Linked DNA regions of Homo sapiens: region 1 is linked to region 2. The links are contacts of gene promoters, found by promoter capture Hi-C in human tissues and cell types (Jung and others, 2019). All regions are on one chromosome and are shown on one strand. Each heading gives the region's core, a stretch centred on a gene start or on the middle of the fragment in contact. The rest is flanking DNA. Distances are from core to core; before and after follow the strand shown.

Region 1 (3,383 bases), core at 512-3,011, 410 kb after region 2:
ATGTAAGTACGCACAACACTTCTTAACTTGTAGTATGGTCTGATCTATAGGGGCTCTTCCCAGGGCACTTCCGTCTTTCACTGGAAAAGCCTCCTTTCCAGAAATAGCACCTAAAACCAATTTCTTTTGGCTTTCTTACTGAAATTATTTTTTATTCTATTGCAATTATTTTTATTCTACTTCCTGACGTTGCAAAAGTCTATCCGTATAGTATTTTCTTCAAAATTTTCCCCAATCCTGTACTTGGTATATATTGTGTAAATATTTATTTATATCACCCCCATTTGCCTGAAGTGCTCTGCTGCCCCGGGAAGTGCTGAGGATCACCACTTATCCCAGAAGAGCAGCTCTTAGGGCAGACTGCTCTCAGAAGCACATTTATCCGCACTCTGGCAGGGAACCTCCCAACCATCCCACGGTTCCAACTCAATTCAACGGTTACCGGCTACATACAATGCCTGACACAAGGAAGATGCCAGGAATAGAAAAATGAACCAAGTATAGTGCCTGTCCTCCAGGAGACAGCAGATGCCAACACAACTACCTGCAATACAAACTCTCATATACCCTTGAGGGAGTCCTAGCCAGATCACACAACTGTCTCTGTTCAGAGGCCAAAAGCAGCCTTGAATTCCACCTCCGACCCTTTCTGACAAGACTCCTCCAGTCCCACCAACCTGAGAATAACAAAAACCTGCTCCTCAATTTTAGTAAATATTAAGCACTATTCCTTATAAAACACTGTACAAAGTACAAGCATATTCATTTTACTTTTTAAATTAAAATTTTTAAAAGGCACGGTCTTGCTCGGTTGCCCAGGTTGGAGTGCACGATCCTACCTCAATGCAGCCTGGAACTCCTGGGCTCAAGAGATCCTCCCAACCTTAGCTTCCCGAGTAGCAGGGACTACAGGTGCGCGCCACCATGCCTGGCTTTTACAAGCACATTAGTTTTCACCTCACAATAATCCAGTACGACAGATACTCTAACTACATCCTCTTTTTCAGAGGAGGAACTGAGATTCAAAGATGCAGATAACATCACCAAGTTAGTAATAGAACAGAGATCCGACTGACTCCCGGGTTGACATCCTTAACCACTATGCTAACCGGCCTCCTCAAACCCTCCAGGACACGATGCGACAGGTTGGGGAAGTCACTCCTTTCTTTTAGGCATGGATCGGAGGAGAAGGACACTGGAGAAGTTTCCATTTCCATACGAAGAATTTCAGGGTCAACTGCATCTAAACTGCTCGCAAGACAGACCCTCCCCCGTCCAGCATCAGACGACCTGCAGAGAGGCCACCAGAACCAGCTACAGGGCACGGCCCCCGAGGGTGGGACCCCAAGGCCTAGCCCCTCCCATGGCCTCCCGCGGACAAAGTGGCCATCGCTGCCGCTGGCACTTCTCCAGTGTGGCCGAGCCCCCCACGCCTGGGCACCATTCACCGTGGAAGTAGTCGGCGCCGCGACCCCCGGCTGGACGACGCGGAGGACACCCAATGACAGGGAAGCTGGGGCCCCACGGCCGCGCCTGCCCCTCCCCACGCTAGAAGGGCTCGCGGGGCGGAGGTCCCAGGAGTTGCCAGGGCCAAGCGGTCCGAAGGAGGATGACTGAGTGGGGGCAACCCTGCCCGCTAACCCCAATCTCCAGCCAGCCTCCCGGGTGCTAGGAATCCTCCCCAAACCAACGAAAGCGGCAGCGCCAACCCGCTTCTTCGCGCTCACCTTCCAGCGGGTTCCAGCAGCGCAGCCACGGAGCACCGCGCACCGACACGCCCCCCTTTCATTCACCTGGCGCCCTCCGATGAGAGGCGGGGCGGCTGGCCAATCGCGGGAGCGCCTGGCCTCGGGAAGGCGGGCCCTTCGGCCAGCAGGGTGGTCAATGGCGCTGGTGCCCCTCGGAGGATGCGCTCTGAAGGCGCTGGTGCTCGCAGGGTGATGGGAGTTGTGGTCTCAGCGCTGGCTTTTCGGGTAAAGATAGAGTGGACAAAACTACAAGTACCAAGATGCCAAAAGGGGCGAGGACCAGTGCTAGCGAAAGGCTGCAGCTCGGTTCGGTCTTTTGAGTCCCACTTGAGGGACCTGCCAAGTACCGGTCTCTTTGTCTGGAGAGCGAAAAGCACGTCGTGGGTATTAATGCAGTCCAGGGAATAAGAGCTTTGACTCATCAGTCCGCACATATTTCACCTACTGGCGCTTTCCGCAAAAATCTGGAAATAAGGGAAATGGTTTAATCGATTCAACAGGTTTTTATTGCATACCCGCGGTTTCTTTCACTGGGTAGTCGTTACAAAAGATAAAAGATTCAGCTCTTCCCTTGACAGGCTCTCCGGTTCATACATACTAGTGAAACGGTTAAATGGCAGTACTAGGTGCTAAGTGACCGTACAGGCGTGTTCTTGTCAGCTGTGAGCAAGACAAGGCAGCTTACCGCTCTCAGGGAGCTTAGTTCTCATGGGGGTGTATTCGTTTGCTAGGGCTGCTGTACCTAAGTATCACCAACCCGGTGGCGTCAATAACAGATCTTATTGTCTGACAATCCTGGGGGCATCTGAAAGCAAGATGTTGGCAGGGTTCTTTCCTTCTGAGCGCTGTGAGGAAACGGTCTCTTCCAGGCTTCTCTCCTGGGCTTGCATATGGCCATCTTCATGTTCACAGGGCATATTCCCTGTATATGTCTCCATGTCAAAATGTCTCCTTTTGGTTGCAGTGAGTCGAGATCGCGCCACTGCACTCCAGCCTGGGGCGACAGAGAGAGACTCCGTCTCCAAAAAAAAAGTATTTTTATAAGGATACCAGTCATATTGGATTAGGGGTTCACTCTATGCCAGTATGACTTTTTTTTTTTTTTTTTTTTTTTTTTTGAGACGGAGTCTCAGACTCTGTTGCCCAGGCTGGAGTGGTGGCGGGTGGATCACCTGAGGTCAGGAGTCCGAGACCAGCCTGGCCAACATGGTGAAACCCCATCTCTACTAAAAATACAAAAATTAGCCGGGCGTGGGCCAGTAATCCCAGCTACTTGGGAGGCTGAGGCAGGAGAATGCTTGAACCAAAGAGATTGCAGTGAGTGGAGATCTGGCCACTGCACTCCAGCCTGGGCAGCAGAGCAAGACTCTGTCTCAAAAAAAAAAAAAAAAAAAAAAAAGGCTACCCCCTTCGCTGAGAGACCCTAATGAGGAGTAGTGAGCCATGCTAAGATAAAACAGAAAACCGGTTGGTACATATCTAAGAAACAGGAGAATGCCATTGGGTTGAGGAAGTGGATGGCAGGTAGACCAGCTTAATGGACGTGCAACCCACGCAGTGGCACAGGCCCGCACACTCAGAAAGGGCTGGTGCTTCCAGGTGAGGTTTTATACTTAACAAAACAAAACAAAAAAA
Region 2 (3,757 bases), core at 921-3,420:
TCCCAAGTTCACCCAGGGCTCCACTAAATCCTCCCAGCCAGCTCTCACTGGCTGCCAGATTCCAGGCACCAGGGCTTTCCCCAGAATTAAGGCCCAAGCACCCCATGCATCATGAGGACTGAGAAGGCTGTACCCCCACAGTCACAACTCTCCAAATCCTCCAAGCCCCCTCCTTCAGCCGCCTTCTCTCTCAAGCCCTCAGGCACTGCCATCTCCTCCCTCCCAATGCCCTACATCTATCTAGGTTTTACCCAAAGAGGCCAGCAGATGGCGCCAAGGTTCCCCTTTCCCCAGCGCTGGACTGGAGGCCAAGACCCCACCAGGACCCTCCCTCCTTTTCTCCCCTGCAGGGACGGGAGTAGATTCTGTGTCCTCTAACTGAACCCTCTCCTTCCTGCTGGTTCCTGTGCTGGAGGCCTGAAGAGGCTCCAGTTGCTCCTGCGGGCCTCCTGGTTGTCTTCCTGTCTGATGGATGGGGGGTGGGGGGTCCCTAGGGGCTAAGCTGCAGCTGGTGGGGCGGGGCCGGGTGGGGTGGGGCAGGCAGCAGCTGCGGGGAGAAAGAGAGAGAAGATAATAAGGGGAGAGAAAGAGAAAGAGAGCAAAGAGAAAAGAGAGAGAGAGGTGCTCTGGCTCCGGGGCTCTTCTCCCAAACGGGTCGAGGTCCCAGCTGAGGCTCTCCCAGGACAAGGTATGTGGCGGGGGAAATGATAGGGCTGGGCAGTGTCACCCTGCCGAGTGGGGCAGGTCTGGGGGCACTGAGGGGATGGGCAGGAAAATTCTGCTGCTCAACAAGAGCCCCTAAGCTCGCTTCCATCTCACCCCTTCCAAGGTGACCAAGGAGGAACACAGGGCCAGCGAAGGAGTCCTGGGTGGGCATAAGGAGAGGAGGGTTGTCTATCGCTCCTCTTGACCCACTGTGTGAATCTGCACCAAGCTCTTCCCATCGGTAGACCTCACTTCCTTAATGTAAAACCAGGGGGATGGAGAGGAAGACCCTGAAGACGTTTCTGTGGCAGAACTTTGCAAGACGTCTCCTTTCCAAAGAAAATTAGCCCTTCCAGGGCTTCTGGAAAACCTTTAAGACCCAAAGGAATGCCCCGCTAGTAGTGGAATTTCGGATAGTCGTGGGAGGGGGCTCAGGGGTTCTTGCTGAGACAAAAGGCCCTGAGCCCTGGTCCATGCCTCTCTCCTCCACCTTGTTTCTCTGGCTGAGATGAGGGAAGGGGGCTGGAGCCACTCCCCTTCTCAGAGATGCTCTTAGAGATTGCTGCAGACTGTTTTCTGGCTGGGGAGGAGCTGGCCCCGGCCAATTCTAGAGTCTCACGAATCTCCGGATGGGTGAAGTCACTCTGGGTGGGGAGACAGTTCAGTTAAGCACAGCTTTGGGAGTCAGATCAGCCTGTGTTCAAATCCTGGCTCTGCTGCGGGTCCCTGGACAAGTCAAGTAGCCTGTCCAAGCTGCAGGCTCCTCCTGTGCAAAGTGTGCAGAGTATGACTTTACAGGGTTGCCCTGAGAATTAAGCCACATAATGCAAAGAAAGCTCAGCATAGTATCTGGCCCCTGGTAGACGCTCATTACTGCCCTCACTATGGGGATGAAAATGAAGGAAAAGGACTGGCCTGGGGTCACAGAGCTGGACTCTCCAGTGAGACAGAGCAGCCTCTTCCCAACCCCACTGGAAACACGGAGCCCTAGTGTCCACTTAGCACTCTCTGCTCACCCCAGCCTTACTGTGATCTCTCCCCTCTGCTCCCGTCTGCCCCAGCCGCAAGGCCTCGGGTCTACCGTGGAATGAGGGGATCCCTAGGCCCAGGGAAGGGAGGCGCGCTTAGGGGTGGGGGCACAAACGGGCATCTCGGTGGCACTTGTCCTCTCTCTACCCTGGGAAAGGGCAGAAAGCGGCAGCCAAGTCAGGGCTGTGCACGGGAGAGAGAGTGACCGCGGCGGGGGCGCGGAGAACCCCGCTGGGCTCCCGCTCGGTGAGAGGGCGGGAGCCGTGGGTCCGCGAAGCCCCTTCCTCCCCGGCAGAGGACCTAATAGGCAGCGGGGGCGGGAGTGGGGGCGCCCTCCGGTCCTCACCCCGCCCCCGCACCTCTCCCCGCAGCGGGGGCGCCCCGCCCCCCGGGCGCCCGACGTGGACGCGGCCGCCGCCACCGCCGCCGCGCGGGAGTCGCTGTCCGCGGAGCCGACATGCAGGCGGCTCGGGGCGGCGCAGGGCGGCCGGAGCGGCCGGGCCGGCCGGGCCGGGGGCCGGAGCGCGAGCGCGAGCGGCCGCCGGGCGCCGGAGCCGCGTCCCCCTGCGCCGCCCCGGGCCTGCCGGCCGGAGGAGCCACCATACACCCCGGGTCGCCGAGCGCCTGGCCGCCCCGCGCCCGCGCCGCGCTCCGCCTGTGGCTGGGCTGCGTCTGCTTCGCGCTGGTGCAGGCGGGTAAGGGGGCCCGGGGCGGGGGGCCGGCGCCGGGGCAGGCTCCTCTCGAGCCCAGCTACCTGGGAGTCCCCTGGTCCTTTCTCTGCCCCCTAGGGACTCCTGTCTCGGCCCAAACACTGCTCCCCTAACCCAGCCCCCAGCGTCTTCCTACCTCCTTGACCCCCAGACCTGTCCTTCAGTTTCCAAATCTCCCCTGTCACCTCAGCCCTGGGTTTCCTAGGGTCTTGTGGTCCCCAGTCCCCTAATCCCATTCCCCTAACCCCAGGTCTTTGCCTCAGCTTCCCTAGCTCCCTTCTTTGACCCAGGGAGCAGCTGAGGACACCAGTTCCCCCACCTGGGCCTCTCTCTGTGTCCCCAGGACCTCTCAAAGCCCTGCAAGCCAACTCTGCAGGGGCAGATGGGGTCCCGCTGTGCAGGAGCACGTGTGAAGGGGATGGGGGCTGGCACCTGAGGGCGCAGGGCGTGGGGTGGGCCCCGGCACCCCTGATCTGGTACAGTGTCTGGCCTGCCCCATGGGGCCGGCCCGTCCTTGCCCAGCCTCTCCTGCCACTCTGTCTTTGTCCCTCCTGGCTGCCGCTGCCCGGCTCATCTCTCCCTCCGTGGCTCGGGGAGCGCTCTCTCGCAGCTGTCTTTCTCAGATGCCCCACTTCTCTGTCCTCTGGTTCTGTGTCTGCCACCACCTGTCTGTGTCCTGTCTCTCCACCTCCCCCTCCATGTCTGGCTCTGTCTCCCTCAGGTCCCAGGCCCAGCCCCCTGGGTCTCAAGTTCACTCTCTGTGGGGTGAGGGGTGCTGCTCAGGCGCAGCTCTGCCCCGTGCTGCACCTGCCCCTTGGAAGATACTGAGCCTTATGTGACTGCACTGCCCCTCTCCTGGACGGTTTTCCTCACTGACCCCCACTATCCCTATCACTCTCACCCCCACTTCCCTCCTGTCTCTTCTGGAGTGATTCCTCATTCATCCTCTTCCCCTACCTGTTCTCTCCTCTCCACTCGCCATGGAGGGGCCCTGCTCTGAGTGACCCCATCTTCCCCTGCCACCTCCCCACCTGCATCTTGGGGCTGGAAGAGCATGGATAAGAGGCTCACACAGACTCTTCCGCAGGCTTTATTCTGCCTGGGCCACCACAGCTCTGAGGATACTTCTGTTCTCCTCACTCCCAGTCCAGGGCTCACCCCAGCCTGACACTTCTCGATCTCTGGGTCTTTCTCCTTCGCGCAAGGTCACTCATTGGACAGGGCAGTATTGTCAAAAGAGCACTGGACTGGGGAGTCCTTTTGTCTGCTTTTCATCAGCTAACCTTCAGTTTCTGTCCACCTATGTCCCCTAC

Evidence for each region. Contacts are between HindIII fragments. The study calls those that stand out against the background at their distance.
Region 1: a contact is called between the fragment with the promoter of ZBTB8B here and the fragment with the promoter of FNDC5 in region 2, in 4 of the 25 tissues and cell types used here (hippocampus, liver, lymphoblastoid cells and 1 more).

Annotation. Positions count from the first base shown.
Region 1 is chr1:32,463,450-32,466,832 of GRCh38, reverse strand. ZBTB8B (zinc finger and BTB domain containing 8B) reads right to left here and starts at 1,761. Exons shown (of 4, transcript NM_001145720.2): 1 at 1,728-1,761. The HindIII fragment of the contact is 24,686 bases long and covers 1-3,383 here.
Region 2 is chr1:32,869,325-32,873,081 of GRCh38, reverse strand. FNDC5 (fibronectin type III domain containing 5) reads left to right here and starts at 2,170. Exons shown (of 6, transcript NM_001441683.1): 1 at 2,170-2,429. The coding sequence starts at 2,192. RefSeq lists an enhancer at 1-402. The HindIII fragment of the contact is 14,778 bases long and covers 1-3,757 here.